Regions from separate parts of the Homo sapiens genome. Here region 1 is linked to region 2. Evidence: promoter capture Hi-C in 16 types of primary human blood cells and fetal thymus (Javierre and others, 2016). All regions are on one chromosome and are shown on one strand. The core of a region is centred on a gene start or on the middle of the fragment in contact, and the rest is flanking DNA. Distances in the headings are between cores, read along the strand shown. Region 1 overlaps ABLIM1 (actin binding LIM protein 1). Region 2 holds the start of TSPAN14 (tetraspanin 14).

Region 1 (6,265 bases), core at 1-2,500, about 34 Mb before region 2:
AAGCCTAAGAATCTCGTTTCAGTACAAGCTTATGCCTCAGGGACAATCACTGTCGGTTTCACATGCAGACAATAGTGAGTGAATGCAAAGAAATGGTACTTTCCTACCTGCATTTAAAAAAAGAAAGAAAGTAAATCTACTCCCCCTCCTTTTTTGGGAACATGGACTGGCCCATTGTGGTTGCTGGTGTGTTGAACTAGTAAGTAAAGCGAGGAGAGGAGGCGTGAGAGAGCGTGCCTGCCCGCCGCACACGGGGCTGGTTTCCGGAGTGCGTCTCTAGAGGGATGCACGTTGCCTTAGCCGAGCTTCGGAGAGAAGCCTGATATGTAACCCAGGCAGGTGGGAGCCTCAGTCTGTCGGGCTGAGGTCTGGCATCTACAAAGCCTCTTGGCCGTGTTCTGAACTTGAAGCCTGGAGGAGTTCTCTGCTCAGCACAGCCAAGGAACAGAATTAGAAGAAAAGGAACCCTGGCCTGAGGTAAAGCGGACATTGCACAAGGTGACCTATGTCCTTTGCTTTGCGTGGCAGATGTGAGATTTCTGGCTTCCTTCGTGAGGTCGGAGGCCGCTCGGATCCTCCAAATGTGGTGGCTGGATGCTGGCGACAGAAGTCACTTTTATTGCCCTGACATACATTTATGTAAACTTTTTGTTTTCCTGATGATACAAAAGAAACGACAGGAGCTTTTGTTCATCGATACAGAACTAGACTGAAGGGCAGGAAAGGCTGGTTATTTATTTCACTGAGAAGTGTAGTGCGTTGACCTTTTAAACAAGGCTTATGTTTTTTTAGGCTGCTACCCGCAAGATTGAAAGGAGACTGTGGTTTTCAGACTTTGGGGTTGTTTTGTTTTGTCTGTGGTTTGTAGAGCTCTGTGAAATTTACATTTGAGTCCTGTTTGGGGGATTTGGTGGTGGAAGTGGCACGTGGGAATGAGTAGATTTAGCTATTACTGTAAATTATGAGATTTTTTTTTCTTTAAGAAATACCCAATAAATGAAAATAAGGAAACAAAATGTTTAGATGTTATTCATGTTTTATTGCGGCTCTAGGTTGAAAGAGCTTGACAATTGCCTCTCTTTCCACCTTTGATATGCAGTAAAAGAAATCTAGAGATTCTGGCCTTTATATTGAAAATAGTTTTCCTAAAAACCCAGTTATTAATCGAATCATACTGTAAAGACTTTTTTTGGGGGGAAAGTGTTTTAAAATGTGCTATACTAGCATGAAAGAAGAAATGGGACCAGAAAGTTATTTCATCTGTGAAAAAAATAGATTTATGATGTTGGAAAAGAAAAAAAGAAAACGTGAGTTTGGCCATAAGCCAGCAGGAGTGTGGTCGCTATAGCAGCTTCATTTGTCACTTAGCTGAGATTGGAGACTTAAAAGAAAACTGAGCCTGTTTTTCTCTCAGACAGCCTCATAAGGAATGTTAAGAGGATGTGAAGTTATTTAGATTACCAAAACAGGTTCTGACAAGTAAGTGAAAATAACTCATTAAAATATAATTGTTGCCATTCTATAAATGGATCAAAAGGCTTGTTGAGTCACTGCGTACTTATAGAATAGGTGAATTTGCCACGGCTCATTGGTATAAATTACTTTTGAGAAGGCTTTTTAAGACTAAGCGTGAGGCCTTGCCAAGCATCCCTTATAACACTTAGAATGTTTTGACCAATGTTTTCGAGGCGGTTGCCTAAGCATTTTCATGTGTCAGTGAGTCTAATCCTCGCATCAGTGGCTTATCCAGTAAGCTCAGGGAATATTATATCCTGACAACAGAAGCCTGCAGATTTTTCTCTTCAACTAAACAATAGCTCACCTAAAAGGACAGAAAGTGAACTACTCAGTTCTTGTAACCTGACTTTCTGGAGGGATGGTCATGATTTTGGCTCCTGTAGAACAGGGTTTCTCAACCTCAGCATTATTGACATTTTGGATGGGATTATAGTTTGTTGCAGGGGACTGTCTATGGGATGTCTAGTAGCATCCTTGATCTCTACACACCAGGCGACAGTAGCACTCCCTCCCCAGCTGTGAGAACCAGAGATATCTTCAGACACTGTTAAATATTCCCTGTGGGCAAAATGCCCCTGGTTGGGAATCACTGCTAGAGGGAAACCTGTCTTGGGGCCTACTGCTGCCAACGAGGGGGAAGGGTCTATGAGAGGAGGCTGGAGTCCCAGGGAGGCCTGGCGGGGTCCAAGGAACAGTGGCAGGACAGGTGTTTTTGCCTGACCATTTGGTTTTTATTTTGTTTGGGTTTTGTCTGAAATCACATCTTGGGAATGGGGTATCAGATTCAAGGACTTGCTGCGGATATACATTCTTCTGCCCCCTTTTCCTTCTGTGCCCTTGTGGGACTTATTTTATACAGTGCTATGATTGGTATAGTAGTCAAACTTCTTTCAATTGAATTCTAAAGTGCATTCTGGGGATATACTATTTTGTCTTTTTTTAAAAAGAAGCTTATACAGTGATCCATTTTATAAAGCAAATAGTTACCCATACTTTTCCCTTCTGTAAATATAGAGTTTTTTGTTGTTGTTGTTGTTTGTTTGTTTGTAATGTGGGTTTTTAGTAAATCTGGCCATGCCTGTTAGTTTTTTTTTCTTCTAGAATCTGCAAGTGAATGCTTTCATTTCTTTTTTCTTTTCGCCATCTGTACCAGTGGGTCTCAAACTGTTTTGATTTTTTTAGGAATTGGGCCTTGTTTTGTGAGTGCAATTGAAGAATCACAGCTTTTTTCCAATTTACAGATAACGATGAAGTCAATGGCTGGGATTTTTTCCGTTTAAAATTTTTCTTACACCTTTAGCATTAATGCTACTGCTTGTTTGCTCTCAAAGGTTTACAGATTACAAAATGCATGAAGCTGCGAGTGCTGCTTTTTCTTGGTGTTTCTCCAAGAATATAGTACATTGCACTGAGCACCGTGACTTCCAGGAGCTACCACCACCACCCAAACCAGATGAGATGTACCACTGCATAGTGCTTAGTGGTGCTTAGCATTGGCTGAACAGATAGGGAAACACCTTGACTTATTGAAGTCTATTCTTGGTGACAGACCTGGACTGGCCCATAATGTTATCAGAGAGCTGTGGTTTCTGCTTTTGATTGCAAAGCAAATCTTGCATTTCTCTCCACCTGGAGGTACCAATGTGACACACACCATGTGCTCTCTAAGTAACAGTTCTTCGTAATTAAAATTCACCCTCTCCCCCCATTCAGTAGACCAAAGATCCCTGAGTGCAGCAAATGTGAGCATTTTAGGTCTATTTGCCCCCAGGATATAGCACAGTGCCTGCTCATACTATTTGCTCAGTCATTGATGAACAGACAAATGAATGTCAATGATTTCTATGGAAAGACCACCCAGGAGCTTGGTCAGCAAGCCACATGTCTGCAGCCTGTGTCCATATTTCTGTAATTTTTTAAAGAGGACAAATCCAGTCACCATCTAAGCAGGTTTTAATGTCTGAGGGGCTACCAGAAAACTCTTTGAAGGATGCAGGAAGAGTGGGTCTGTGGGTTGTAGAATTTGGGCCTTCATAAGGCCCAGAAATTAAATTTCTGCTCTTATTATAAACCCCACAGGTTAATGCTTCTTCATGGTTTCAATAAGATAAAGAGCACACTAACCATAGGGTCTGACCCAAAGGCAAGGTATTTACCACCTCTTTAAGAAAACTCGCCAGTTGAAAGAGCTTATGATCAGAGGTGAAAAAACGGCCCTTGTTGATCTATGTGTCCTGTGGGGAGTCAGGTGGTGCTGCCCAGAGAACCTACCTGGTTCTCTGAACCAGGTTATCAGGGCAAGGGGGGTGCAGATGGGGCAGATGTCTTGAAATTGGAAGTTTCCAGACTGTGCAGAATGTAAAGATGCCGTAGTGAGAGACAGAGAAGCCAAAGATCCTCTCAATCTCTTGCTTTGGTTCACAAACCAACCCCAGCTCCATGGATTTTTTTGTTTTGTTTTGTTTTTTGAGATGGAGTCTTGCTCTGTCACCCAGGCTGGAGTGCAGTGGTGCAATCTTGGCTCACTGCAACCTCCACCTCCTGGGTTCAAGCGATTCTCCTGCCTCACCCTCCGAGTAACTGGGATTACAGGTGTGTGCCACCATGCCCGGCTAATTTTTTGTGTTTTTAGTAGAGATGGGGTTTCACCATGTTGGCTAGGCTGGTCTTCAACTCCTGACCTCAAGTGATCCACCCGCTTCAGCCTCCCAAAGTGCTGGGATTACAGGCGTGAGCCACCGCACCTGGCCTAGCTACATGCTTCTAAGCAGAGCCCTGGGAATGAGCAAGCGTGAGCCTTTCTTGTACCTTAAGCTGCAGAGGCTTAAGGTGCAGCCTTTGACGGGAGGGGACCTTCATCAAAGAGGAAACAAACCCTGCTGCTTTATTATTCGCCAAGCCTGGAATGTTTTTAGCAAATACGTGTTTGTGTCCTTCTCAGCATTGCTGGTTCACACTGAGGCCATTTGTTGCTCATAAACACTAGATGAAGCAAAAATACTTGTTTACACTTAAGACTGCTTTTATCTTTCCTTACTGCTGAATAGTAATTTTTTACTAGATTGTCTTGGTTCTGTGCAGCTGGTTCCTTATGTCTGTGCTCATATCCGTATACCTTGTCCAAATAAACATACTTGAAAACATAGAGAATTGTGTTTTGTGAAGTTTAGAACATCCTCTAACAGAGTTTAAGCTGAGCTTTCTGCTTTGTTTTGGCAACTTGTTTAGGATGCCAAATGTATCTGGTCTGGCAACAGATGAAAGAAGATGTTGGCCCTTATATAACGAAGTTTAGGGAATAAGTGGGGGGTGGGGTGGATTGCCAGGTTTCCTTTGTGGTTTGAAAAGAGTTCTAAAGCATGAGGAAAACATGTGTTCGACTGGGTTTTTGTTTTGCCTTTAAACCTTGGAATTTTGAAAATCTGTTGAAATATCTTCTCCTGGCTTATGCAGCCCTCTGAGATTAAGTTTCTGATTACCTACATCTTCCCTCCTCTTTCATTCCAGCCCTGCTAGCCTTCTTTCTGCCCCTCAAGCACAGACACTGTCCATCTCTGGGCTTTCACTGCTCCCTGAGCCTGGCACATTCTTCCTCCAGATCTTGGCTTCCTTCTCATTATTCAACCTGCCTCTTTTGACTTGGAGAGGTATCCTCTAATCACCTAGCTAAAGTTGCTTCCACCTGCCCAACCCCTAGGCCATCTTCTCTCCCCTGGTTCTGTTTTAGGTTCTTCATGGCACTGTTCCCCGACTATCTGGAATTCTTATCTGCTTGTATCCATGTCTAGTATCTGTCACTCATTGCAAGAATGTATGCTTATGACAGGTACTATCATATCCCCGAAACTAAAACATCATCTGATAGAAGGTTGGTGCCCAATAAGAGGATGAGTGGATGGATAGAAGGATGGATGAATGGGAGGGAAAAGGAGAGGGAAGGAAGGAAAGAAGGAGCGGGGAAAGGAGGGGGGTTGACTACCGAGTAAATTTCTACTCTCTTTTAAGTCTAAGAGCTTCTCTCCTGTGATTCCTCTTTGACTCCCCAAGACAGTAGCCTTGGAGAATTTTCTCCCCACACCCACCTCACTTTGTACATTACACTAACCATCTTATCCAGTTACAGTCACCTGTTTGCTAAGCTCTGCATACTAAGCTCTTGAGGACAGGAATGTGTAATAAAGGTGGTTATGGTTGTAATTATTGTTTGTTCTTATTGCCTTAGCACTTTATAAGCATACTTCATCAAAGTCCTTTCATCAACTCTATGGCTTGAGTATGACTCTCATCTTTGTTTTGCAAGTAAGTAAACTGAGGCCCAGAGCAGTTGCCGAAAGGCGTACAGATGATTACTGCAGGGCCAGGAATTGAATACAGATTTCTTCTTGGTAGCGCAGATTATACAGCCTTTCTTTCCTCCTCATCAGGTGTCCAGTGCCTGACCCACAGGTTCATCACAGGCTTTTGCCAAATGAATGAAACCTAAGACCTCACCTCCTCCCTTCTCATCCCTATTATTTGAGCTTATACATATTATTTATACTATTTATAAACATAAACATGAGCCTATCAGTTCATAATCCAGTGACATCTCTAAGGATAACTAGCTGCTGTATCTTAAGTCACTTATTTTTATTGTTTTTTTAGAAACAGGGTCTCACTCTGTTGTCCAGACTGGAGCACAGTGGCACAGTCATAACTTACTGCAGCCTCAAACTCCTGGGCTCCAGAGATTCCCTGCCTCAGTCTC
Region 2 (6,209 bases), core at 2,813-5,312:
GACTCTTCAAAATCCTACTAACGTGGCCTGAGGGGGAAAATTTAACTAACAGGGTTCCTACTCCCTTCTACAGACCAGGGATCTAGCCCCACACTCAATCCCATCCCCAGTGGGAGTCCACCTTCAGTCACCTCGCTACCACTGCTTTCTACACCCCTATGCCTGCAAGCTCAATCCCCGAGTCCCACAAAAGTGGGGAGGACCAGGCCTGCCTGGGTATCGCTACCTGCTCCTGCTTCTAGGAAAGGTGGCTGCCCCTACAGGCCACATCCAGGTAGCGGATGGAACATGCAAGATATCCAAGGACTGACACGGCAGGGCAGAGACAGGCAGCAGGAACCTAATCCCCTTCCCATAGGCATCTTAAAGGCCACCAGGACTCAGTGGCAGGACACAGGGATCATCATGTTCTCTGTCCCTCTGTCCAAGCCACCAGGGGTGTTCCCACTAATCACTATGGGTCCCCCCAGTGAGGACAACATAAAGCAGATAAGTGATGAACATGCAGTGTGAACAAGAAATAAACCTCTGTTGCTTTAAGCCTCTGAGACCTGGGGATTGCTGTTACCACAGCAAACCGTGATCTGTCCAGACAGACACAAGCAGTGACTCCCCAATCTTCTGCATGTGGTAGTGCTGGTCTTCCCATTCCCTGGCCTTAGGGAGACAGAAGCTCCATCACCAATCAGCGGGGGTTCCGGGGTACCTGCTATGTGCCCAGGCTGTGCTGGACAGATGAGATGTGTTCAGAGGCAGGGATACAAGGGCACCTTCACTGAAAACATTCATTAGTTCCACTGTGGGCCAGGCTTGTTTGGTATATGAATCCATTTTAATCACCTCTGAGAGGAACATATTGTCTAAATTAGAAATGAGAAAACCTGGTCCGGCACAGTGGCTCACGCCTGTAATCCCAGCACTTTGGGAGGCCGAGGCGGGCGGATCACTTGAGGTCAGGAGTTCAAGACCAGCCTGGCCAACATGGTGAAACCCCATCTCTACTAAAAATACAAAAATTAGCTGGGTGTGGTGGTGCACACCTGTAGTCCAAGCTACTTGGGAGGCTGAGGCAGGAGAAGAATCACTTGAACCCAGGAGGCGGAGGTTGCAGTGAGCCGAGATCACGCCACTGCACTCCAGCCTGGGCAATAGAGTGAGACTCAGTATCAAAAAAAAAGAAATGAGAAAACCCAGCTCATATTGAGACTTCAAGCAAGTTACTCTGTGACCTCTCGGGACCACAGTTTCCTCATCTGTAAAATGGAGCTGTTGACATCACGGTTGTTTTGCTTTTTGTTTTTTGTTTTTTGAGATGGAGTTTCATTCTTGTTGCCCAGGCTGGAGTGCAACGGCGCGATCTCAGCTCACTGCAACCTCCACCTCCCAGATTGAAGCAATTCTCCTGCCTCAGCCTCCCAAGTAGCTGGGATTATAGGCATGTGCCACCACGCCCAGCTAATTTTGTATTTTTCGTAGAGACAGGGTTTCACCGTGTTGGTCAGGCTGGTCTTGAACTCCTGACCTCAGGTGATCCACCCACCTCGGCCTCCCAAAGTGCTGGGATTACAGGCATGAGCCATCACGCCCAGCCATCACAGCTGTTTTCAAGGATTAAATGAGTTATTACAAGTCAAACTTCTAGGGTGTAAGTCTCAATAAACTCACATTAGTATCACTATGAAATAATCTTGTCCTTCACTAAATTTTAAGCCAGCAAAGGTTTCCCAGGCCTGGCACAATGCCACTTTGCAGGCACTGCTAAAAGGAATTCTACCTCAGTTGAAGTTAAATGGGTCAAATTCCTGAGCACATGGTGGCATAGAGTGAGGCCTCAGGAAATAGTTCCAGAACCCAGGGCTTTCCTGCTCCCCGGCCTCCATGGGAACTTCACTTCACTGCCGCCACAACCTTCAGGGCAGAGCCATCTCCTCTCCCACTTCATACTGCCACTTCCTACATGAGAAGGACCTTCACCAGTCCTCAGAGACTAGCACAGCTGCCCAGCTGGTGAAGGGGACAATTCCCTGGGCAGCCAACCATTCTGCAGCTCCATGCCCTTTCTTCCTGGGGCAGCCACAAACCTTCAGAAGCACCCATGGGCTCAGACCCCCCCCACAACCCCGTCTCCCTAAATGATCCTGCTACGCTGAGATCAAGCTCAGATCAATAAACACTACTGAGCACCTATGCCATGTCCAGCCTGGGTTCTAAGACCACACCAAGTTCATAGCTGGTGAGGGACTTTCCAGACTTGGAATAGTGCCTGCAACAATGCCTCGCACCCCACAGAAATCTCAACCATGCTTTGTTAACTAAACTGAGGATGACATTAGGTGGCCCAAGCAGTGGAGTTCAGAGATGTGGGGATGGATATATCCAGAGTCTCCAACTGAAGTTGGGGTGCAACACAATGAGAAGGAAAGGGAAAATACATCTGGTGGCCCTGGGTTTCCAGGGCCTGTCACTATAACGTTAGGGATCGGAGTGGGATCAGACTGCGCGTGGTGGCTCACACCTGTAATCCCTGTGCTTTGGGAGGCTGAGGTGGGAGGATCACTTGAGCCCAGCAATTTGAGGCTATGATCACACCAGCAGCTAAGGGGATAGAAGGGCATACAGGGCCATTATGGTGGAGTCTGGGCTTCATTCTGGGGGTGCCAGGGCCCAGGAAGATCCCTGGAAAGACGGCCGCCCCCACCAACCACTCGGCTAGCTGAAATGTGGCAAGGACATAGGGGTGCTCCGATGGCCTGTCCCCAGGTTTCCCTTCACAAATAGAGAAGGGTGGCCGGAGCACTCAGCAGGCACTAACTGCTTCTGGACTTCAAGGTCAAGGGGCAAGGGGAAGGCTACTTTTGAGGATTTGGCAGGCCACTCTCTCACTAGCCCAAGAGCAACTCCCTCTCGGAAGGGAGGAAGATCCCCTGGAGAGCAGACCACTGCCAAGAGCACACCTGCAGAGGCTCCAATACAATGCTCTGCACAGCCGCCCAGCACCGCCTGACCTCCCGGATAGCAGCGCCAGCACAGCCAACGAGTGTGTGACACCGCCGCACTCACCACCGCTCTGCGCCCAGCCCCAGGCCAGTACCCGGGCCCACGACTTCCCCCGACTCCCCCTAGCACGGACTGTTTCTCGCCGGAGATCAACTTTAAGTCCCCAAGACAAGTGCTCCTGCGGTCCCAGGGCCAAAGTCCCTCCACACACCCTCACACAGGCACTTCCTACCCACCCGCACCCCACCCCTGGGGGTGGAGGAGAAGCAGCAGCGGCCCGGGACAAGCACAGTCCGCAGCCACAAACCTCACTCTACCAGAACTCCGGCTAGGTCAGGGGTCAGGCTTTGCTCCCAAACACAACCCCACACGACTAACGCGGAGAAGCTGGGTCACCGCCTACTCAAACTCCGGCCGTCCCAAACCCAAGCCGGGCAGAGTGGGACCCACGGCGGCGTGGGAGACTGAGCACAACCACGGCGGGGCAGGAGGAAGGGGCGGCCCGCCCCGGCCTACGCCCACCCCCACCCCGGACCCGATCTCCTGGGAGCCGAGGGTGGGTGACTGAGCCGAAAGGGTGGCCCATCCCCGAGCTCGCTGCTGGGGACGAGAAGCAGAGCCCCGAGCAGCAGCGGCCGTCCAGGCTCCCGTCGCCCTCACCCCGCCCGGCACGGGCGCGCACTCGCCGGGGCGCGCTGATGGGGCGAGGGCTACCGAACCAGGAGTGCCGGCCCCGGGCCCGCCGCGGCTCTCGTCCGCGCGGCGCCGGAGTTCGGCTCAGCGGGGTCCCGGCGGAGGCCTCCAACCTCTAGCGAGCAATCCTGGCAGACAAAGCCAGCGCCGCCCGCGGGGCCGCTCCTGGGCAGGCGGGGAGGGAGGCTGAGGGGCCAAACAGGGACCTAAGGAGCAGCCCTCGCCCCCGGAGAACGCTCGGGGAAGTCGGCCTCAGACAAAGAAAGGGGCAGGGCCCGACGCCCCAGCCAGGTCTCCGCGCTCTACTCACCCGCGCGCGGCGGCGGCAGCGGCGGCGCGGCCCGGCTCGGCCGAGGAAGTTAGAGCAAGTTCCGCGGCGCGGGGCGGGAGGGCGCGACTCGGGCCGTCCGAGCGGCGGGGGCGGGGCGCGGAGGGGCGCGGAGGGGCGGGGCCGGAGGCGCGGCGCCTGCCGTCTGCCGAGGAAGGGGCGCCGCTTCCCTGCGCCGCCCGGTGCGGCCCCGGGCGCCTGGGCCCGCCCTGGCCCCGCCCCTCCCCCAGCCGCCTCGCCCCTCCCCCACCGCACCCCGCCTCCCGGCCCGCGCGGCACCGGGGACCGCGAGGCCGGGTCGCCGGCCCGCCCCTTTGTCCCGCTCTGGGCGGTGCCGGAGGCTTGGGGCGGCCCCGGTCCGCGCCCTCCCAGTGGGTGCGCGGCGCAGGCCGGGCCTGGCCCGGGGCCGGGCACTTGTAGCCGCCGGGAGCGCTCTGAGCCGTTGCGCTGCGCAGACGCCGCTCTGGCCTTGTCGGAGCCGAACCTGGGAGAAGCACGAGCTGTGGGAGGCGGCGTCTCGAGGGATACACGGGATGACCGTGGAGAGCGGGCGAAGGATTAGGAAAATGGCTGTGGTGGAGATAAGAGGCGTTCCTGCCCGGCTTTGGAGCCTGGGGGCGGGGGTAGTCTTCAATCAAAAGAAGGATGGGGAAAAGGTTTTTATTTCTTTGTAAACCAAGGAGTAAGGACACGCTCCTTCTGGCCTTGGTGCTAAAAATACCAAGCTTTCTTTGGATCGTGGCTGAGATTTCTTCCTAACCTTTACGCTAAAGAGGTGGCTGGGACGATTCTTGTGGTGTAGGGGGGTTTCCAGGGACAGCCAGGGGTGGCGCCCCTCTTTGGATCGTGGCTGAGATTTGTTCCTCACCTTTACGCTAAAGAGATGGCTGGGACGATTCCTGTGGGGTAGAGGGGTTTCCAGGGATAGCCAGGGGCGGCTCCCCAGCCTCAGCCTCCCTACCTGTAGAATGAAGCATGCCACACCTCTGTTTCTTAAACTTATTCGGTGGCTGAGGGCCGAGTGGTCTTCTCTGTTGAGTAACACCAAACAGGGATCTATTAAAACTGGGCTAAGACTGGTTGCCACATGCCAGTACAAGCAACCAACAGGTTAATTCCAATGGAAGGAGGAAATCTTGAAATGGAGACTGTTCAGTCCATTCCCAGGTTTGTTTGGGTTGTTTTTTGAGCTAAGGTATCGCTTTGTCACCCAGGCTGGAGTGCAGTGGCATGACCATGGCTCACTGCAGCCTCGACCTCCCGCCTCAGCTTCCCCAAGTAGCTGGGACCACAGGTGCAGGCCACCACACCTAGCTAATTTTTTTTTTTTTTTTTTTGTAGAGACGAGATCTTGCTGTGTTGCCAGTGATGGTCTTAAATTCCTGGGCTTAAGCAATCCTTCCGCCTCTGCCTCCCAGAGTGCTGGAATTACACGCATGAGCCACGGTGCCTGGCTAATTTTATTTGTTTGTTTAATTAAGAGGGATGCAACCTGTCTGTGACAGCCCAGGCAGCTCTGGAAACTCCCTGGGAACCTGTCCATTCATTCAGCAGATAGTGAGTGTTTGTCTGAGTGCCTGATAATATGCCAGGCCCTGTGTGCATGGTGGGATACTTCAGTGAACAAGACAGCTGAGGCCTTTTGCCCAATAAAGTTAATTTTTAGTGGAGAAGACAAATACATAATCACAAGTTGAAGTAAAGGCTGGGACAAAAACAAGGGGCTAGAATAGAGAATAAAAGCTACCTTAGATGAAGCAGTCAGGGAAAGTGAGGAGGCGATGCTGAAATTGAAGTCAAAAGAGTAAGGAGTTAGCCTTGGGAAAAGTTGGGCAGAGACATTCCTCGCTGAGAGCAGTAGGTGCCTTTTCAGGGTAAGTTCTGGATGGGTCAGGGAACTGAAAGAAAATCAGTGTGGCTGAAGTTTTAAGCCTAGGGGAAGAGGCCCAGGATGGAGTGAGAAGGTGGGTGGGGGCCAAAGCATGCAGGGCCTGTGGGCTGTGTCAAAGAATGGAGACTTTGTTGAGCCTTGGAAGGGTTTTATGCAGAAGACTAACATGTTCTGATTTAAGGCTGTGTGTGGGTGTCAGGCAAAAATAAAAGCAGGGAGCCAATTAGGCTTGCCACAATCCAGGCCAAAGATGATGGTGGTTTGAACCAAAGTGGTGGTCATGCTAAGATGAGTAGTTGA

What was found. The method cuts DNA at HindIII sites, captures the fragments that hold promoters and counts their contacts. A CHiCAGO score of 5 or more calls a contact.
Region 1: a fragment that was not itself captured here is called in contact with the fragment with the promoter of TSPAN14 in region 2 in 1 of 17 cell types (non-activated CD4 T cells); the score reaches 24.1 in non-activated CD4 T cells.

Annotation. Positions count from the first base shown.
Region 1 is chr10:114,520,872-114,527,136 of GRCh38, reverse strand. The region is part of intron 6 of ABLIM1 (actin binding LIM protein 1); the gene reads left to right. Among named protein-coding and RNA genes, the nearest start is that of AFAP1L2, 120 kb to the right of the region's middle. RefSeq lists enhancers at 1-218, 389-508. The HindIII fragment of the contact is 2,440 bases long and covers 31-2,470 here.
Region 2 is chr10:80,452,163-80,458,371 of GRCh38, reverse strand. TSPAN14 (tetraspanin 14) reads right to left here and starts at 4,062. Exons shown (of 9, transcript NM_030927.4): 1 at 4,001-4,062. RefSeq lists enhancers at 150-229, 2,947-2,996, 3,027-3,286, 3,236-3,753, 4,497-4,706 and a silencer at 3,417-4,466. The HindIII fragment of the contact is 5,289 bases long and covers 1-4,745 here.